Linked DNA regions of Homo sapiens: region 2 is linked to region 1. Evidence: promoter capture Hi-C in 16 types of primary human blood cells and fetal thymus (Javierre and others, 2016). All regions are on one chromosome and are shown on one strand. Each heading gives the region's core, a stretch centred on a gene start or on the middle of the fragment in contact. The rest is flanking DNA. Distances are from core to core; before and after follow the strand shown.

The links. Contacts are between HindIII fragments. The CHiCAGO score rates a contact against its expected background, and 5 or more counts as called.
Region 2: the fragment with the promoter of NLRC3 here is called in contact with the fragment with the promoter of SRL in region 1 in 1 of 17 cell types (naive CD8 T cells); the score reaches 5.7 in naive CD8 T cells.

What each region holds. Positions count from the first base shown.
Region 1 is chr16:4,240,565-4,243,343 of GRCh38, forward strand. SRL (sarcalumenin) reads right to left here and starts at 1,516. Exons shown (of 6, transcript NM_001098814.2): 1 at 1,443-1,516. The coding sequence starts at 1,503. The HindIII fragment of the contact is 10,843 bases long and covers 1-2,779 here.
Region 2 is chr16:3,576,075-3,578,913 of GRCh38, forward strand. NLRC3 (NLR family CARD domain containing 3) reads right to left here and starts at 1,329. Exons shown (of 20, transcript NM_178844.4): 1 at 1,075-1,329. LOC105371060 (a long non-coding RNA gene) reads left to right here and starts at 1,429. Exons shown (of 2, transcript XR_001752061.3): 1 at 1,429-2,839. RefSeq lists enhancers at 2,413-2,462, 2,493-2,672. The HindIII fragment of the contact is 15,514 bases long and covers 1-2,839 here.

The DNA.
Region 1 (2,779 bases), core at 266-2,765:
AGAGAAGGGACCTTTGCACAAGCACCTGCCTGCGTCCTTTCCCCACGACAAGAGCCCCCAGCGAGGCCTGCAGAACATTCCAGATGACCAGTTCCCTCGGTGGGAGGAAAGATAAAGGATGTCCCTAAAAGGCCAAAAATTCCTGGGGCCCAGTGTGTAGCAGCCCAGCAGCTGGGGCTGGGGGGCAGCACAGGAGCGGCCACGAAGGGAGAGGGTGGCAGCGGCTTGGGGCTCCGGATCCAATTACGCGGCTGTTTCCATACTTAGCCGCCTGACAGCCGCCTGGAATACTCAGCACTCAAGCCGCTGCAGCCCTGCAGAGCCCAAATTAACTCAAGGACAGACAAGGGCAGGGCCCAGCAGCACATGCAGTGGCTGGAGCCCCCCACCTTACATCTTGAGTCCCCGAGAAATAGCTTTTGTTCCCACCCACTGCCTGCTCTCCCTGCAGGGACTGTGCCCCTGCAACCCCCTATTCAACCTCAAAGACCTGAGAGGCTGGACTCTGGGCCTCTCCAGTCCCAGGTACGGACCTAGGCTCAGAGCCCAGCTTGGGGGAAGACTGCCGAGTCATGAAAAGACTCGGTGGGCAGTCCGGATCCTAGGGGGATCCCCGGAGCACCTCCCTAAAAGCATTCCCTCGGGGAACCTGGCCTCAGGAACCTTAGGAACAAGAGAGGTGGCAAAACAATCTGGCATCTCCTCCATAGCCTATAGATAACCCCCATGCTGCAACCCAAGCCACCACCTCTGCTACCCAAAGTGCTGAGATGTCAAAGGGAAGCCTCAGCACACAGAGCCAAGCCCCTTTTCTGATGGAAGCCCCCACCCCGAGCAGAGGCTCTACTCCAGAACGGGCCCCGTTCCTCTTCTGAATTGCATCCAATGCTGTTTCCAGCCCAACCGCCAACTCTATTTCCGATCTTATCCCAAACCAATTCCAATTCTATCTCACTGCTCCCAAAACGGTCCCCACCTTTGCCCACTGTATCCCCTTCTGTCCACGCAAACCCAGTTCTCTTACCCGAGTGGGGCCTCCGCCTTATATCCCACCAGGTGGGAGGGTCACCTCAACGACCTCCAGCTCCCAGACTGTGCTATTTTGTCCGTCTCAGAGGCTCCCCCGTCTCGACTTTGAGGGCCCTCTTTCCCACATCTACTGGCCAGACTCCTCTCTGACCCTGGCTCACAGCTCAGCTCTGTTTGCCGTTCCCACTTCCTCTGGCCTTCCTGAGGGCCCCGCAACTGTGCTGCTATTCTCCAGCACCCAGCTCTTTCTCTGAGGCCCCAGGCCCGGGGAAAAGAGAAGGGTAAGAAGACACCAGCCAAGAGCCAGGGTTTGCCATCAGCCCCGACCCCCTACCCAACCCATGGTAGACAGAAAACCTTGGAGGAAGCGTGGGGGACCAGTCTGGGCTGGGTCATGCTGGGAGGGGCCCTACCTGCTTGTCCTGAGAACAGGAGCGAGGCCAGGAGGCAGCCGAGCAGGACCAGCGCCCTCATGGTGACTGCCAAGAGAGCCCAGCTGCTCCTCGCCTCTATTTATACGGCCGGCCGTGGCAGCAGGCGGTGGAGGGGGGAGAGGGGTCACACAGTCACCAGGGCAACTAGGAGGGTGTGATGGGGAAGAAGCCCGGACCCCAGAAGGCTGTGCAGAGGCTCAGGCTGCGCCACTGCTGTCCCAGCTGCCAGGCCCCAGAAGGCAGGGCCGTGGCTGGATTCTCTTCCCCCGAACCCCTGCAGCCCTGGGATCACATGACATGGGTCACAGGGCGTGGGTGACAGGCATAAAATGGAGCATCCCTTGGGCTCAGGCGGTGGAGCTGGGAAGCTGAGTCTTCCCAGAACTTGCAATAACTTGACCTGAAGTCTCGGCAGGTTAAGGACCTTGACACGCCTGCACTGGAAGGAGGAAGTTGTAAGGCCACGCAAAAGAAATCCTATTTAACAGCCACTGATCCACATGCTAGAGAGTGGTCAGCTACGGCAAACCCGCAACATGTGACCTCTGAGGTCCAAGGCTGCAGCCCTGGAACAACCTTCCCAGCCTCTGGAAGAGAGAGAGCACAGACCAGAGGGAGAGGGGCACACTGAGACACAAGCTGAGGCTACGGTGTAAACTGGAGGATGGAGCAACAGATATCCATTTCCAATGGCCCAGGGGTTCCAGAACATTCAGTCACCTCTGCAAAGTGCTTTTTTGTTTATTTGTTTTTGATAGAGGATCTCGCTCTGTCACCCAGGCTGGACTGCAGTGGCACAATCATCACTCACTGCACTCGACCTCCCAGGCTCAATCAATCCTCCCAACTCAGCCTCCCAAGTAGCTAGGACAGTAGTGCCACCATGCTGTACTAATTTTTTAAAATTTTTTGTAGATGGCCCAGAGAGCCAGTTGTAAGAAGCCAAGGGAAAGCAGACACTTGCTTGTCTGGTCGGGGTACAGTGTCACTGTGTGGGGAAGAGGTAGAAGCCAGCCTTGGAGGAAAGGAACTAAATCAGGGCCAGGCACAGTGGCTCACACCTGTAATCCCAGCACTTTGGGAGGCCGAGGCGGGTGGATCACCTGAGGTCAGGAGATTGAGACCAGCCTGGCCAACATGGTGAAACCCCATCTCCACTAAAAATACAAAAATTACTGGGTGTGGTGGCGGGTGCCTATAATCCCAGCTCCTCAGGAGGCTGAGGCAGGAGAATCACTTGATCCCAGGAGGCGAAGGTTGCCATGAGCCAAGATTGCACCACTGACTCTAGCCTGGGCAACAGAGCGAGACTCTGT
Region 2 (2,839 bases), core at 79-2,578, 660 kb before region 1:
CCTGGGGAGCCCAGCACCCTGGGACAGAAGAAGAGGGGTGCAGCCTGCAGCCTGTGATGGCCAACAGTGAGCCCCAGGCTCAGGGTCACCTCCAGGGAGGGGTCCAGAAAAACACCAGGGCCTCTGGAGCCTGGCCATAGGGGAAGACCCTGCAGCCAACACCCAGGCTGGCCCAGGGCAGTGGCACTTCTTCCGAGAAGGCCTCTGCGGTTGCCGTCTCTCTCGACCCTTGTCTCACCCAAGGCTGTGGGCAGGAGAGGCCCTGGGGCTGCCCACTCGCCTGGGGGCGGCGCCTGCACCCTCCCTGCCCCTCATGACCTCGCCCCTCCTGTGCTGTCACCTCCATCTACAGGTGGGGTGCTGAGGCCCAGAGAAGTAGCCTCCCATGGGGGGTCCCAGTGCCAGGAAGGGTGCCCAGGTCTGCCGATTCCCCAGGCCGTGGCTCAGCATCACCACTGCCTGCCCGCAGCACCTTCAAGATGCTTCCTGCTTCTCCTGGGCCATCACTGGTACCTGGGGGAGCTGGGTTTTGTCCCTGGGACCTGTCCTGGGCCATTCTTAGTTACCTGTTTTTTCTTTTCTTTTTTGTTTTGTTTTGTTTTGTTTTGGAGACAGTCTCGCTTTGTCACCCAGGATTGAGTGCAGTGGCTCGATCTCGGCTCACTGCAACCTACGCCTCCCGGGTTCAAGCGGTTCTCCTGCCTCAGCCTCCCGACTAGCTGGGTGGGATTACAGGCGTCTGCCAACATGCCTGGCTAATTTATTTTTTATTTTTAGTAGAGATGGGGTTTCACCATGTTGGCCAGGCTAGTCTCAAAGTCCTGACCTCAAGTGATCCGCCCACCTTGGCCTCCCAAAGTGTTGGGATTACAGGCGTGAGCCACCGTGCCTGGCCACATCTCTTTTTTCTACAGCATGAGCCAGTCCTGCCCCAGGAGACAGCTTCTTGGAGTCTCGTGGAGTCTCCCCAGTCCCCCTCCCCAGAGTAGCTCAGGCCTTAAGGCCACTGTCCTTCCTGCCAGCATCCCTTCTCCCTCCCCTGCCCTGCACTGAGGTCACCTGGACCCAACTTACCTCCCGGGCCTCGATGCTGCTCCAGGGACAGCAAGACTGGGGGGCCTGGGGGCGTCCATCTCCATGCTCCTGGGCTCAGCCCTGCTCCAGCTGCGTGGTGGTAGATGCCCTGGGAATCCCTGTGCCAGCCTGAGTTCTCAGGACCAGGGATCAGGGCACTTACCACGCCAACCAACCAACCGTGTGGGGGCCGAGAGCAGTGCAGCCCCGACCTTCTGCAGCCCCACCGAGCCCACCGGCTGTCCCTGTGGCTCCGGGTCCTCACCTCTTCCTGTGCTGGGCTCCACCTCATTCTTCCTTCCTGTCTGATTTCAACAGCCAACAGCCTCGCAGACACATCGAGGAGCCGGGGCACCCTGGCTTGGTCACCGCCCCCGTGCAAGTTAAGTGCGGGGGCGATGCTGGGGGTCTTGACTCTGGGATTAAGTGTCCCTGCAGGTGGCATGCTCAGGATAAAGTGGCTGGTGCCAAGGCTGTTGACACATCACCTCCATCCCGCCACAAAGGAAGCTGCCCCGCCATCAACAAATGCTTGTTTTCAGGCGGGTGGTCAGGAAATCAAGTGAGCAGCCTGAGGTCACGCAACTAGAGGGTGACCCCAGCAGGACTGGACTGTGCCCTGCCACCTCCAGGCCACCCCTGTGGCTCTCCTTATTTATTTATTTAATTTATTTATTTGAGACAGAGTCTCGCTCTGTTGCCCAGGCTGGAGTGCAATGGCACGATCTCGGCTCACTGCAACCTCCCCCTCCCAGGTTCAAGAGATTCTCCTGCCTCAGCCTCCTGAGTAGCTGGGATTACGGGCATGCGCCACCATGCCCCGCTAATTTTTGTATTTTTAGCAGAGGAGGGGCTTTGCCATGTTGGCCAGGCTGGTCTTGAACGCCTGACCTCAGGTGATCCACCCACCTTGGCTTCCCAAAGGGGTGGGATTACAGGCGTGAGCCACTGCGCCCAGCCTATTTATTTTTTGAGACAGGATCTTGCTCTGTCACCCAGACTGGAGTGCAGTGGTGTGATCTCGGCTCACTGTAGCCTCTACCTCCTGGGGCTCAAGTGATCCTCCTGCCTTGGCCTCCCAAAACACGGAGATAACAGGTGTGAGCCACTGTGCTCCCTCTTTTAACACCTCTTGCTTTCTTTTCTCTCTGTCACCCAGTAGGCACCTCTGACTCAGCTGTGCCCCATAACATCTTCCTGTGAGCAAAGGGCTCCCCAGAGGCAGGTCACCTGTACCCTAAGAGGAAACAGCAGAATGTTGCCGTCCGCGGCAGGAGATCGCACTCGGCCCCTGGAAGTGGACCTCAGTGGGTGGCCTGCCCTGACAGGGAAGGGCGTGAGGGGGAAGGACATGGCCCAGAGCAAGCCACATGAGAAAAATTACAATAAAGTATGGGACATCCGCTGGGGACAGGGAGCAAGCAACATGGGGCCACTGAGGGAAGGAGGTGACAAGGTGGGAGCCAAGGGACAGGGGTCCTGGGGTCTGAATTTTCCTCAGCAAGCAAGTGGGAGCCAGCAATGGTTGTAGAGCAGGAGAGTAGTGGGTCTGGACTCATAGAGCAGCTTGTGGCTCAGGGGAGGTAGGAGGGTTAGCTGGTTCCCCAGAGCCTGTGTGGGTGATGGGGGGGAGGGAACTGAGGCAGCAGACCAGAAGTGCTCCTGCACATTCCCCTGCCTGCCTACCTTCTTTTGTCCCTCCTTCCTCTCCCTCCCTCCCAACAATGCTTTCTGAGCACCCAGGAACCTGCTGGGTGCTGGGAGG